2 separate regions of the Homo sapiens genome follow, and region 2 is linked to region 1. The links are contacts of gene promoters, found by promoter capture Hi-C in blood cells and fetal thymus (Javierre and others, 2016). All regions are on one chromosome and are shown on one strand. The core of a region is centred on a gene start or on the middle of the fragment in contact, and the rest is flanking DNA. Distances in the headings are between cores, read along the strand shown. Region 1 holds the start of CTDNEP1 (CTD nuclear envelope phosphatase 1). Region 2 overlaps FXR2 (FMR1 autosomal homolog 2).

Region 1 (6,338 bases), core at 3,839-6,338:
CCACTCCCCTACCATTACACAGCCTCCCCTCTAGAAAACTGCTCTAACCCGTTTCTCCTCACCCCTTCCTCCAAATCCTCCCAATTCCCAGAGCCCTAAAACCATTCCTTCATTACAGAGCTCCCTTTAGCTCTCCAAAACTCACCACTTCCAGGAAGAAATCCACATGGGGCCTCTTATGTACAAAAAACCGGACAGGATGTTTGTCTATTACCACCTACAGAGGAACAAGATGGGCTGGGGGATGTCATGACCACCACAACCCAGGCCTAGAAAACGCCCCACCCATCTGCTTCCCTCCTCCAGGCTGACACTGGTGCCAGCGGATGGAGACAGATGCTCTGGGACTGGGAAAGGGAGTCCAGGTTTGGGCAGAGGAACAGATGGAACCATTTCATCACTCCCCACCACCACACACCTTGAGGATGAAGTCAGGAGGCGTACCAGGCCGGACTGTGGGCCTCAGGACCCCATCATGGTGGGAGTGAATAAGTGTCTCATCCAGATCCAGCACCAGGATCTTCCTCTTCACCTGGGCTGAACCAGAGTGGGGAGGAATAATATTGACCGACCTCTGACCCAGAGCTAGCCCCTACTTCACCCTAAAGGAGGCTTCCCACCACATACTTACCTAGCCGATTCCGGGACACAGGAGATAAGGGGAGGATATCATATCGAACAGTTTGGTACTGAATTACCTACAAATAGCACAAAAGAGGATTGAAACCCTTGATAAGGAAGCCTTCCCCAGTAACAGTAACAGGGAGCACATAATGAACATTTACCACAGGTACTATGTATGTAATTTAGGCTTATTTCTTCTTCTTTTTTTTTTTTTTTTGAGATGGAGTCTCGCTCTGTTGCCCAGGCTGGAGTGCAGCGGCATGATCTCGGCTCACTGCAACCTCCGCCTCCCAGGTTCAAGCAATTCTCCTGCCTCAGCCTCCCTAATAGCTGGGACTACAGGCGTGCACCACCACGCTCGGCTCATTTTTGTATTTCTAGTAGAGGCGGGGTTTAACTATATTGGCCTGGCTGGTCTCAAACTCCTGACCTTGTGATCCTCCTGCCTTTGCCTCCCAAAGTGCTGGGATTACAGGAATGAGCCACTACGCTGGCCTTTTTCATTTAATCCTCAAAACAACCATAATATTACTGTTATACCTGTTTTAAGGTTAAAGAAACTGAGGCCACACAGCTAGGAATTATCTTAAGTTGTTTCTCTCCCTAATTAAAATGAAAACTCCATGAGAATATGATTTTGTCTAGATCATGGCTGTATTCCCAGTGCCTAGAACACAGTAGCAAAAGTGGTCAGTTGATATTAGTAGAATCAGCCAGGCGCAGTGGCTCATGCCTGTAATCCCAGCACTTTGGGAGGCCAAGGCAGGCGGATCACAAGGTCAAGAGACGGAGACCATCCTGGCCAACATGGTGAAACCCCGTCTCTACTAAAAATATAAAAATTAGCTGGGCGTGGTGGTGCGTGCCCATAGCCCCAGCTACTCGGGAGGCTGAGGCAGCAGAGTGGCTTGAACCCAGGAGGCAGAGGTTGCAGTGAGCCGAGATCGCACCACTGTACTCCAGCCTGGTGACAGAGCAAGACTCCGTCGCAAAAAAAAAAAAAAAAAAAAAAAAAAAAGTAGAATCAATGAAGTGATAGAGCCAGGATTGTACCAATGCAGTTCAACCCAAGAACGTGCCCTCTTTTTTTTTCTTTTTTTTTTTTTTGAGAAGGGAGTCTCACTCCATTGCCCAGGCTGGAGTGCAGTGGCGCGATCTCAGCTCACTGCAACCTCCACCTCCCAGGTTCAAGCAATTCTCCTGCCTCAGCCTCCTAAGCAGCTGGGACTATAGGCGCGCGAACCACGCCCAGCTAATTTTTGTATTTTTAGTAGAGACGGGGTTTCACCATATTGGCCAGGCTGGTCTTGAGCTCCTGACCTCATGATCCACCTGCCTCAGCTTCCCAAAGTGCTGGGATTACAGGCAAGAGCCACCACCCCCGGCCGAAGCTGCCCTCTTAACTGTGATATTATCCTGCTACACTGAACAAAGAAACGACCCCCACAACGCAACCTTCACCCCAAGAATTATTTGTAGCAACTACCATCATTGGGAACTAAGTGCCTCAGATTCCCTAGTGCACATGGAGTAGGAGTCGGGAGGAGATCCCTGGGTCCTTAATGGGAATATAGAATGAGGGAATCCAGAGGTTGTCAGGTCAGCTAAGTTCCTCTGGCTAGAAGCCACCAGGCCTATTTTAACCAGCCACCTGTCCACTTCTGTCCCTTCTAGCCAAGTCACAAGTTCAGAGAACCTCAGCCCTCTGAACAGTCTCCTTATCCTGGTACCCAGGGTGAGGCAAAGAACACTGGAAAGCCCCTGCCAGGCTGACTGGCAGGGTCTGGAGGAGGCCAGAGTGAAGTCAGGGCCGTTAAGTGAGAGGTGAATAAGGGACAAGGACGTCACCACCTCATCCAGCTCTGCTTCTCCAAGCATTCTCTAGGGGCTATTTCCTAATACGCACATCTCCCCATACAAAGCCTGGCAATTCCCTCTTCCACACTTTTCTTCAAAGGTACAAACCCTCTTCAGTGCATACCTAGGCCCCAAGCCACACCAGAACCAGGTTCTCCCTTCTAAACCCACAGGGCTCTCTCCCCCTAATCAAGATCTGCCCTTCTTTTCTCCCTGGGCCATGATGAGGTCCGAAAGAGCTCCAGTGTCCAGCCTTGCTATCTCGGGTTGCATATGCTGGGCATGTAGGGAATGCTCCAAGCATCTGCCAGAAGCGGGGTGGGGAAAGAAACCAGATTGGAAGGGAAGGGAGGACAAAAGGCTATGGGGTCAGTGCTGCCCAAAGGAGAGCAATTTTGGAAGTAACCTGTGGATGAGCTGAAGCACCACTCCGTATGCCCAGAAAACTGATGTGTTGGAGCGAGAACGTCAGAGAAGATGGCAGTCAACCCATAAAGAAAACCGCTGGAGGCCGGGTGCAGTGGCTCAATCCCAGTACTTTTGTGAGGCCAAGGCGGGCAGATCACTTGAGGTCAGGAGTTTGAGACCATCCTGGCCAACATGGTGAAAACCCGTTTCTACTAAAATTACAAAAATTAGCCAGGTGTGGTGGCAGGTGCCTGTAATCCCAGCTATTCGAGAGGCTGAAGCAGGAGAATCGCTTGAACCCAGGAAGTGGAGGTTGCAGTGAGCGGAGATGGCACCACTGCACTCCAGCCTGGGCGACAAAGCGAGACTGTCTCAGAAAAGAAAAGAAAACCCCAGGAGATAGCCCCACACATATCCCAGCATCTCTGACCCTAAATTTTTCTTGGCTCCTAGCTCTTGTCTCGGGGGAATAGCGCTGCTGCCTACAGCCACAACCATCCTGTACTGTTCGCGCCCTAAATCAGGAAGTGGAAGCAGACTGGTAAAGGACAGAATGAACCCAAGGCCAGACCCATTCTCCCAAATCAGTTAAATCAACCACCACTACCACTGAGGGCTTTCTGGAAATTCTCTGGACCCCAGGTCACCCCAACCTGGGTTTATTCTTTCAAATTGTATTGAGGTATGCTAAGGGGTACAGACCACAGTACAGACCCAGAACCTGTGTCTCCGCTTACTAAATTCTCCCCAGACTCCTTCCGAGGATTCTCCCTGGTGGTGGTGAGACCACAAGAGCACATTCATTTAAAGTGCTGTTAGCTGAAGGACCTCTGACCTTGGAGAAAAGCTAAGGGAGAGGGGACCCAGAGATGCTTGGGTCCATCCGGACAGTTTCCCTCAGAATGCTAGGCTCTCCTGGAGAAGCAAACGTCCTCATTTTCAAGCCCTACAACTGCCCAGCGCTGTCCTCTGACAGGGACACCCAAACTTCAATGGTGGGCACAGCACCCACCTTGAACTCCCTCCCACAATTAAAGAGGCCCATCGTAAAAGCATCTGCTTTAGTCTTCAATAAATCCAGATACCTACACTCACACTATGAAATAAATTTTCACAGCCTTTTTGGAGGAATTCTCTTAATGGGAACCGCAGGCGTTTCTCCTTCACACCCAGGGCTTTCCCAAGTTCCCGTCCTTGTTTGTAACGTATGCCCTCCCACCCACCTCCACCCTTGACACACAAGTCTGTCTCTTCCTTGTTATAGGACCAAACACACACCGAGGTTCCAAATAGGGTCTTTCCCAAGCCCACATCCACAGATCCGGCTGTCATCAAACAGGTGTTCCCCGCCTCTTGGTTTCTTTAGCAACAACTCCAGCTTTCTTAAAGAGCGCCCCACCCACCACCTTAGCCCCCAAGAGTTGCCAAATCCTGTCCCATCTAGCCCCATCAAAACCCCCAAGGGCAAGGTTCTATTACAAGGGTCTCCCACCTCGCCCCGCTTAGGGTGCCCAATTCTCTGGCGAGAAAAGCCCCAGCCAGGATTCCCTTCCTAGGCCCAAACAGAGGCCCGACACTCCGAAAACCCCTGAGCACCACGGACAGATGTCCCCAACACCGCCAGACGTCCCCAACACCGCCAGCGCCCACCCTGGCTCACCGTGCGGATCTGCCTCCGCAGAAGGTAAATGAAGAAGCTCCAGAGCTTGGCGGCGAAGGCCACGAACGTGCGCAGCCCCAGCAGACACTGCGTCCGCATCATCCCGATGACCCCGGCACCGCCGGCCCCGGGGCCCCCGCGGCCCAGCTCCGCCAGCCCCCCGGGGGCAGCCCCCCGCCGCCGGGAGGGGGAACGGGGGCCCCGAGTGGCAGGAGAGGCTGCAGAGAGGGGCACGGAGCGGGCGGCTCAGAAAGCCACCCCTGGCGAGGGTAAAGCCCAGCGGAACGGGGAGCTGGGGGACAGGCGTGGGCAGCCCGCGGGGGCCCACATGGGCTGGGAGTGGCACCGACGGCTTCGGGGAGGTTGCGGGCCGAGACAGGTAGGGCTAGGATGGGGTCCTCCGAGACCTGGAGGGAAGGGGAAGGATAATTGGGGGAGGGGGCAGTGGGGGAGGGGGCTAGGGAAAAGGGAGGAAGGGAAAAGGGAAGGGGAGGGGGGGAAAGCAGAGAGTGGCCCGCTGCGCAGGCGCGCTAGGGGGCTGCTCGCAGGAACGGGGAGGGCGGGGGCAGCGGCGCGCAAAGGGCCGCGGCAGCGGAGAACGGGCCTGCAGAGCGAAGGAGCAGGGAAGGAGGGGGAGGGGGAGCCGGAGGGCGCAGAGCGCTGGGCCGGAGCGGCCTCCCCCTCCCCGAGCTCGGGGGTCCTTTAGCCGCTGGGGACCGGGGCTGCAGCCTCTGCAGCTGGGTTTCCCACTCTGACAGGCGCCATTTTACCGTCCAAAGGACTCCCTCTTCCTGTCTTTCCCCCTCCTCTTCCCCTTTGACACTACTTCCGGTGGTGACGTGTATTCGCTTCACCGGGACTAAGTTCCTCCTGCGCGGTCTATGGCGGGTAGGTATAAGGAAAGCCAAAAGCACTCCAAGCGAGGCTGCAGTATTGCGCACGCGCAGAAGGTGGCCGCGGGGCGGGGCCTGAGGCGAAGCAGGCCCCGCCTCAAACTGCGTGGGCGGGGAGAGTGACGTCACTTGGCCCGCGCTTAGGGCCCTCGCGGGGGGCTTGTGGGTCCTCCTCCCCCTCCCACTGACAACTGCCCCAACTGCTCTTCCCGCCCCGGTCACAGTGAAAATGTAGACGGGGTCGTTGTCCGTACGACTGTGCGCCAGGGCTCGGGGAGGGGCGCCCTCCGCGTGAGCGCCCCCCTGGGAATATTGAACATAATCACCTCTCATTCCAGACTATGTTAGGTCTTAATGGTGGGAGGACGCCCGAGTGCTCGGCCCGTTTCACCCCGAGGAGGAAGGACACTGGGTCATGACGCCATCAGAGGGCGCCAGAGCAGGGACCGGACGCGAGTTGGAGATGTTGGACTCGCTGTTGGCCTTGGGCGGCCTGGTGCTGCTTCGGGGTGAGAGCCAGAGGCACGGTGGCGGGGCGGGGGGTGCGGTTCGGGCCTGGCTGAGGGGACGGAAGTGGGCAGGAAGGGCCAGGGGTCACAGGCTAGGTGTGGAAATCGCGACGGGTTCGCGAAGGCGGTAATCCCAGCGCTCTCATACCCTTTATCCGTCCCTCGCTCTGCAGATTCCGTGGAGTGGGAGGGGCGCAGTCTCTTGAAGGCGCTTGTCAAGAAATCTGCACTGTGGTGAGTATCCCACAGTGTCTCCCCGGCCTACCCTGGATAGGGCACCTGTGCCCACTCTTTGACAATCCCTTCTCATCTCTGCCTTAGTGGGGAGCAAGTGCATATCCTGGGCTGTGAAGTGAGCGAGGAAGAGTTTCGTGAAGGTTTTGACTC
Region 2 (7,194 bases), core at 74-2,573, 340 kb after region 1:
AAGCCCTGCCACTCCTTGCCTCCTGTTCCCATAACTGTCTCACCATAGGCAGGACCGCCTGTCCTCCGGCCACGGCCACGGCCCCCATAGCTGCCCCCATAGGTTCGAGTCGCATGGAGGGAGGAGGAGGAGCTCTCATCAGTGCTATATCCAGCCTTGTCGCTGCCACCGCTGCCCCGCCCACTCCCAGGAGGGCGAAAGCCCAGCCCAATCTGCCGAAGCTGCTCATCAATTTGTAGCCTCTCCAAGCGAAGCTGCTCTACCTCCTGGTTGGGTAAAAGATGGAAGAAGGGGAAGGAGAAATAAGATCAGTGCCTTGCTTCATGCTTCTGCACCCTGACTGTCCCTCTATATCTAACCTCTCAGGAATGCAGGGAGAAGGAAGACACTGGCTAAACAAGGAAAATTCTGGGACCCAACCCTATAGCCCCAAATTTCCACAGATGTTTTCTGTTCTACACGGAGAGACAAACAGAGAACCAAAATCCCTGAGCTGACCCCCACAGCAGTCTTAGTTCCCTTTTCACACCCAGCATTTTTCTCTCCCGGCCTGGGTACCTGCAGGTAGGAGAGGTGATACTCCAGCAAAGCCTGGGCATTGCTGATGTTCTCTCGGGTGCCAACAAAAATGAAGGGAACCATTCCCTAGAGAACAGAGAGCAGAAACGATGGATCAGAAAGGAAAATGAAATGGAAGGATTAACGCCGCCCAGTCTCCTAGGGGAGCCTGCCCAGTGGGATCATTCTGGGCTCTAAATCTACTAGTGTTAAACAACTTTCCGTACTCCACCCTCTCAAAGAACAATCCCAGCCCTCAGAGGACAATCCCATTTACTTCTGGAAACCAATCTCTATGCCCACTTGCCCCGTACCCATACCTCCTCCCTGGGGTTCTTCTTGTCATTATCACCTTCCACTCGAACCCTCACCACACCAGATTTATCCACAATCTCCTGGATCACTTTCCCGTTCTTTCCAATCACTTTGCCTGGAATAGGTAAATGAGGAATTCAGCCTTTTATTTTTTTTAAGGAAATAAGAATAAAGCTGATACACCGTCTTCCAGCCTCATTTTCTTTATATGGATTCCATTTACTTCATTCTCCTGCTTCTAGGTTTCTGATGTGTTTTTACAGGACAAAATGTTACAATCCCTAGAAATTTATTCTTTCATTTTTATCACTCCCATTACAGACTGTTTCTCTGTCCTTGTGAAACTGGGAGTCCACAGGGAGGTGCCAATCCTGGATAAAAGCTCAGAATCACTGTAGAGAATCTTGATTCTGACCTCTAACTGTATATACACACCACCAACTCACCAACCAGGTTCCTGGGCACTTGCACTGAGTCCTCAGAAAACTCAAGGTAGCTTCGGGCCTGTCGGCAAGCCTCGGGAGTCTAAAGGAAGAACAGCAGGGAGTTGTTACTAAAACAGAAGACCAGCTGGATGTGGTGGCTCACGCCTGTAATCCCAGCACTTTGGGAGGCTGGAGGCAGGTGGATAAATTGAGCTCAAGAGTTCAAGACTAGCCTGGGCAATATGGTGAAACGCCATCTCTACTAAAAATACAAAAATCAAAATACAAAAATACTAAAATACTAAAAATACAAAATTGGTGGCTCACGTCTCTAATCCCAGCTACTCCGGAGGCTGAGGCAGGAGATTTCTTGAACCCAGGAGGCAGAGGTTGCAATAAGCTGAGATTGTGCCACTGCACTCTAGCCCGGGCAACAGAGTGAGTTAGACTCCATCTCATAAAAAAAAAAAATTAAACAAATAAATAACTTAAAAAAAAAAACAGAGGACCTTGGCCAGGCACAGCGGCTCACACCCATAATCTCAACAGTTTCGGAGGCTAAGAAGGGAGGATTGCTTGAGGCTAGGAGTTAACAACCAGCTTGGGCAACAGAGATCTGGTCTATTTTTTTGATTTTTTGGTCTCACTCTATTGACTATGTTGCCCAGGTTGGTTCAGTGGCACCATCATGGTGTACTGCAGCCTTGACTTTCCAGGCTCAAGTGATCCTCCTGCCTCCGCCTCCCAAGTAGCCAAGTAGCTGGGGCCACAGATGCATGCCACCACGCTCAGTTAACGTTTTTTGGTTTTTGGTTTTTTTGGGGGGTAAAGACAGGGTCTCTCTATGTTGTCCAGGTTGTTCTCCAACTCCCAGGCTCAAGTGATCCTCCCCTCTATCTTCCCATTTCAGCCTCCCAAGTACCTGCGACTACAGGTACGCACCACTACTTCCAGCTAATTTTTAAATTTTTGTAGAGATTGGGTCTCACTATGTTGCACAGGCTGGTCTCAAACTCCTAGGCTCAAGTGATCCTCTCACTTTGACCTCCGAAGGTGCTGGGATTACAGGTGTGAGCCACTGTGCCCAGTTTGAGGCTTATTTTCTACTTCGGCCTCTCTTCCCTCTATCCCCTAAGAGACCCAGAAGAAAGACATCCTTTGCTGACCTCCCCATAGATGCGGAAAGTGCAGGTCTCTTCACCCAACTCAATGGCGGTCACCCCAGGTACTTTTCGGGCCTGCTGGATGTTGGCACCGTGAGTCCCAATTGCCAGTCCCATCAGGTCCTCTCGCACTGTGAACTCCTCTTGGAAGGCTGCTGCCAACTGCTTGCTTGTCTGAAAGGAAAAGTCACTGTAGGAATCATGGTGGTAGAATCTCACAGTCCCAGGCACACGACCCTTTGCATAACTTAAATAAGGAAAACTGTGTGATATTAATAGAAAGCTAGAACCACTCTGGAGTCCGCGGACCACGAGGACCTGTGTGGAAAGGTCAGGAACTTTTTGTTTTTTCTTTGAGATGGCGTCTCGCTCTGTCGCCCAGGCTGGAGTGCAGTGGCGCGATCTCAGCTCACTGCAACCTCCGCCTCTCGACTTCAAGTGATTCTCATGCCTCGGCCTCCTGAGTAGCTACGACTACAGGTGTCCACCACCATGCCTGGCTAATTTCTGTATTTTTAGTAGAGACAAGGTTTCACCATGTTGGCCAGGCTGGTCTCAAACTCCTGACCTCAGGTGATCCGCCCGCCTCAGCCTCCCAAAGTGCTGGGATTACCGGCATAAGCCACCACGCCCGGCCAAGGTCAGGAACTTTTAATTCCACTCCTTCCAAATACCAGTGGTTTGTGGGGGAGGAAAGGTAAAGAGGGCAGAGTTTGGACTGGGACACACCGAAGTTCTGGATTTGGCCCTAACAGTATCTGTCCCTAAGAGTATCTATCTGTGTGATCTTAAACAAAACATACTCTGCCTCTTGTGTCATCTGCTAAGTGATTATATCCAACTTATCTTATTCTCAAGACTAGCAAGAGGATTAGACAAGGCTGGTGTGAAAGTACTTCTCACAAGGTACATGCAAGTGTAAGGAACTCTTACCTTAATCAAACAAATATCAACTCATCCCCAAATAAAACTCAACAACTTAAGTAAAAAGTGAGGGGTAGGCTGTGCGCGGTGGCTCACGCCTGTAATTCCAGCACTGTGGGAGGCTGAGGCAGGTGGATCACAAGGTCAGGAGATCAAGACCATCCTGCCAACATAGTGAAACCCCATCTCTATTAAAAATACAAAAATTAGCTGGCCTTGGTGGGGTGTGCCTATAATCCCAGCTGCTTGGGAGGCTGAGGCAGGAGAATTGCTTGAACCAGGGAGTTGGAGGTTACAGTGAGCCGAGGTCATGCCACTGCACTCCAGCCTGGTGACAGAGCAAAACTCTGTCTCAAAAAAAAGTGAGGGGTTAAGAAAAACAGAAAACATGCCTCTAGAACACCAGGCTTTCACTTCATTTCTCAATCAGTCCTTAGAGGAACCCCTGGGTTCAGGGGCAGGAAGACAGGAAAGGTTTTAGAGGAGTGAATCCCATGTTGTAAGCACCAAATAGAAACAATACCTGAAAGGAGACATTCCTAGATTGAAATACACTACTTCCCACTTCCAAGTTGGATAGGACTGAATTATACCAAGGATTTATACCAGGCAAGAAGAGAAAGTTGGAAAAATAAACTAAGTTGAGTGTTCAAAATCACTACATTAGGAGGGGAGGGGAAGAGATCTACAATGACCTATAAGCGTCTTCTAGATAAGCTTGCAGAACAGCTGGGTTTTCTTTTTTTTTTTTCTTTTTTTTGAGATGGGGTCTGTCACCCAGGCTAGAGTGCAGTGGCATGATCTCTGCTCACTGCAACTTCTGCCTCCCTTTTTTTGTATTTTTAGTAGAGAAGGGGTTTCACCATGCTGGCCAGACTGGTCTCAAACTCCTAACCTCAGGCAATCCACCTGCCTCGGCTTCCCAAAGTGCTGGGATTGCAGGCGTGAGCCGCTGCACCCGGCCCCTTTCCGGTTTTTAGAGGCTTCACTACTAGGCATGACTGATTAAATCACTGATCCTCAGTGATTGCCTTAACCTTTGGCCCCATTCCCCTCCCAGGAAGTTGGTGGGGGTGAGGCTGAAAGTTCCAACCCTCTAATCATGAAGCCACCTAGAGGGGCTAGCCATGAATCAACTCATCAGCACACAAAAACACACATCACTGGAGATTCCAAGGATTTTAGAAGTTGAATGCCAGGAGCCTGGTCAGGAGACCAAATATGTATCTCTCAGTATCACAGAGCCTGTCAGTCCTACTGGTTTTACTCGTAAAATTTATCCTACATAAAACTACTCTCTCTCTCTTCCTTTAGCACTCCAGTTCAAGTTTCTCACCTGGACTACTGTGCTCTGTTCCTGCTTCCATTCTTGCCCCCCTTTCCATCTGTCATTGAAACAGGAGTTTAAAACAGAAGGCACTTTCGGCCGGGCACAGTGGCTCTCGCCTGTAATCCCAGCACTTTGGGAGGCCGAGGTGGGTGGATCACGAGGTCAGGAGATCAAGACCATCCTGGCTAACACGGTGAAACCCCATCTCTACTAAAAAAAAATACAAAAAAATCAGCCGGGCGTGGTGGCAGGCGCCTGTAGTCCCAGCTTCTCGTGAGGCTGAGGCAGGAGAATGGCGTGAACTTGGGAGGTGGAGCTTGCAGTGAGCCGAGATCACGCCAATGCACTCCAGCCTGGGTGACAGAGCGAGACTCCGTCTCAAAAACAAAACAAAACAAAACAAAACAAAAAACCAGAAGGCACTGTTAACTCAATGGCTTCTCAGTATACGCACAATAAAATCCCCCCTCCTCAGCCTACCGTACATGTCTTACATGATCTACTCTCTGACCGAATTTTGTATCGGTCTCCCTTTGCTCACTCTGCGCTAACTACACAAGCTGCAGTGAGCTGAGATCGCACTACTGCACTCCAGCCTGGACGACAGAATGAGACTCCGTCTCAAAAAATTAAAAAACAACAACAAAAATTAGGCCGGGTGCAATGGGTCATGTCTATAATCCCAGCACTTTGGGAGGCCAAGGCAAGTGGATCCCTTGAGGCCAGGGGTTCGCGACCAGCCTAGCCAACATGGTGAAACTCCGTCTCTACTAAAAATACTGAAATTAGGGCCAGGTATAGTGGCTCATGCCTGTAATCCCAGTACTTTGGGAGGCCAAGGCAGGTGGATCACCTGCGGTCGGGAGTTCAAAACCAGCCTGGGCAACATGGTGAAACACTAAAAAAGCAAAAATTATCCAGACGTGGGGGCGCGTGCCTATTATCCCAGCTACCTGGGAGGCCGAGGCACAAGAATCGCTTGAACCCAGGAGCGAGAGGTTGCAGGGAGCGGAGATTGTGCCATTGCACTCCAGCCTGGGTGACAGAGGGAAACTGTCTCCAAAAAAAAAAAAAAAATAGCCAGGTATGGTGGCATGCACCTGTAATCCCACCCACCCAAAGGCTGAGGTGAGAGGATCACTTGAGCTCGGGGGGTAGAGACTGCAGTGAGCTGAGATCGCACCACTACATACACTCCAGCCTGGATAACAGACTGAGACTCCATCTCAAAACAAAAAACAAAAACAAAAAATAAAGTTTGTATCATCTGAAGGTAATGGTGAATTTTTACCTGCCAGTGCCCTGAGCAGGATCCCTGAAGAAGTCAAAGATTATCATGACCCAGAAATTGCACAGGCACAGAAAAAAGCCTCCCAAAAAGATCAATTCCCTTGATAAATGGAAATGGTATTCAAACACACACACCCTATTCACTTAGAATAGTATAATACCAACGAAAGGGAATCTGACAATTATACGATGTCAGAATTCAAAAAGATCTCACAGAAATACTCTAGTCAGGCCAGGCGTGGTGGCTGACACCTGTAATCCCAACATTTTGGGAGGTCGAGGTGGGCGGATCACCTGAGGTCCATAGTTTGAGATCAGCCTGGCCAACATGGTGAAACCCCATCTCTACTAAAAAAGACAAAAATTAGCCAGGTGTGATGGCACACACCTGTAATCCCAGCTACTTGGGAGGCTGAGGCAGGAGAATCGCTTCAATCTGGGAGGTGGAGGTTGCAGTAAGCCAAGATAGCGCCACTGCGCTCTAGCCTGGGCGACAGAGACGCTATCTCAAAAAACAAACAAAAAAACAAGAAATATCCTTTTTTTCTTTGAGATGGAGTTTCACTCTTGTTGCCCAGGCTGGAGTACAATGGTGTGATCTCGGCTCACTGCAACCTCCGCCTCCCAGGTTCAAGCGATTCTCCTGCCTCAGCCTCCCGAGTAGCTGGGACAACAGGCGCCTGCCACCACGCCTGGCTAATTTTTGTAGTTTTAGTAGAGACGGGGTTTCACCCATGTTGGCCAGGCTGGTCTTGAACTCCCGACCTCAGGTGATCTGCCCGCCTCAGCCTCCCAAAGTGCTGGGATTACAGACGTGGGCCACCGCGCCCAGTCATATCCTTTTTTTCTTTGAGACAGAGTTTCACTCTTGTCACCCAGGCTGAAGTGCAATGGCGCAATCTTGGCTCACTGCAACCTCCACTTCCCAGGTTCAAGCGATTCTCCTGCCTCAGTCTCTCGAGTAGCTGAAATTACAGGCATGTGCCACCACGCCCAGCTGATTTTTGTCTTCTTAGTAAAGATGGGGTTTCACCAGTCTCGACTCCCAACCTCGGATTGATCTGCCTGCCTCGGCCTCCCAAAGTGCTAAAGTGCTGCGATTAAAGGCGTGAGCCACCGCGCCCACCCTAAAAAATAAATATTCTAGTCTAGGCTGCATGTGGTGGCTCACACCTGTAATCCTAGCACT

What was found. Contacts are between HindIII fragments. The CHiCAGO score rates a contact against its expected background, and 5 or more counts as called.
Region 2: a contact is called between a fragment that was not itself captured here and the fragment with the promoter of CTDNEP1 in region 1, in 8 of 17 cell types (naive B cells, naive CD8 T cells, total CD4 T cells and 5 more). The highest score is 9.2, in naive B cells.

What each region holds. Positions count from the first base shown.
Region 1 is chr17:7,246,646-7,252,983 of GRCh38, forward strand. It overlaps CTDNEP1 (CTD nuclear envelope phosphatase 1), which reads right to left and starts at 5,089. Exons shown (of 8, transcript NM_001143775.2): 1 at 4,550-5,089; 2 at 632-698; 3 at 419-537; 4 at 146-217. The coding sequence starts at 4,651. ELP5 (elongator acetyltransferase complex subunit 5) reads left to right here and starts at 5,570. Exons shown (of 8, transcript NM_203414.3): 1 at 5,570-5,951; 2 at 6,125-6,185; 3 at 6,273-6,338. The coding sequence starts at 5,906. RefSeq lists enhancers at 4,692-5,279, 5,280-5,868, 5,737-5,956 and silencers at 4,817-4,936, 5,007-5,216, 5,987-6,226. The HindIII fragment of the contact is 9,547 bases long and covers 1-6,338 here.
Region 2 is chr17:7,593,360-7,600,553 of GRCh38, forward strand. FXR2 (FMR1 autosomal homolog 2) reads right to left here. Exons shown (of 17, transcript NM_004860.4): 8 at 2,465-2,635; 9 at 1,320-1,398; 10 at 879-988; 11 at 559-645; 12 at 44-266. Among named protein-coding and RNA genes, the nearest start is that of SOX15, 6.9 kb to the left of the region's middle. The HindIII fragment of the contact is 5,554 bases long and covers 1-4,100 here.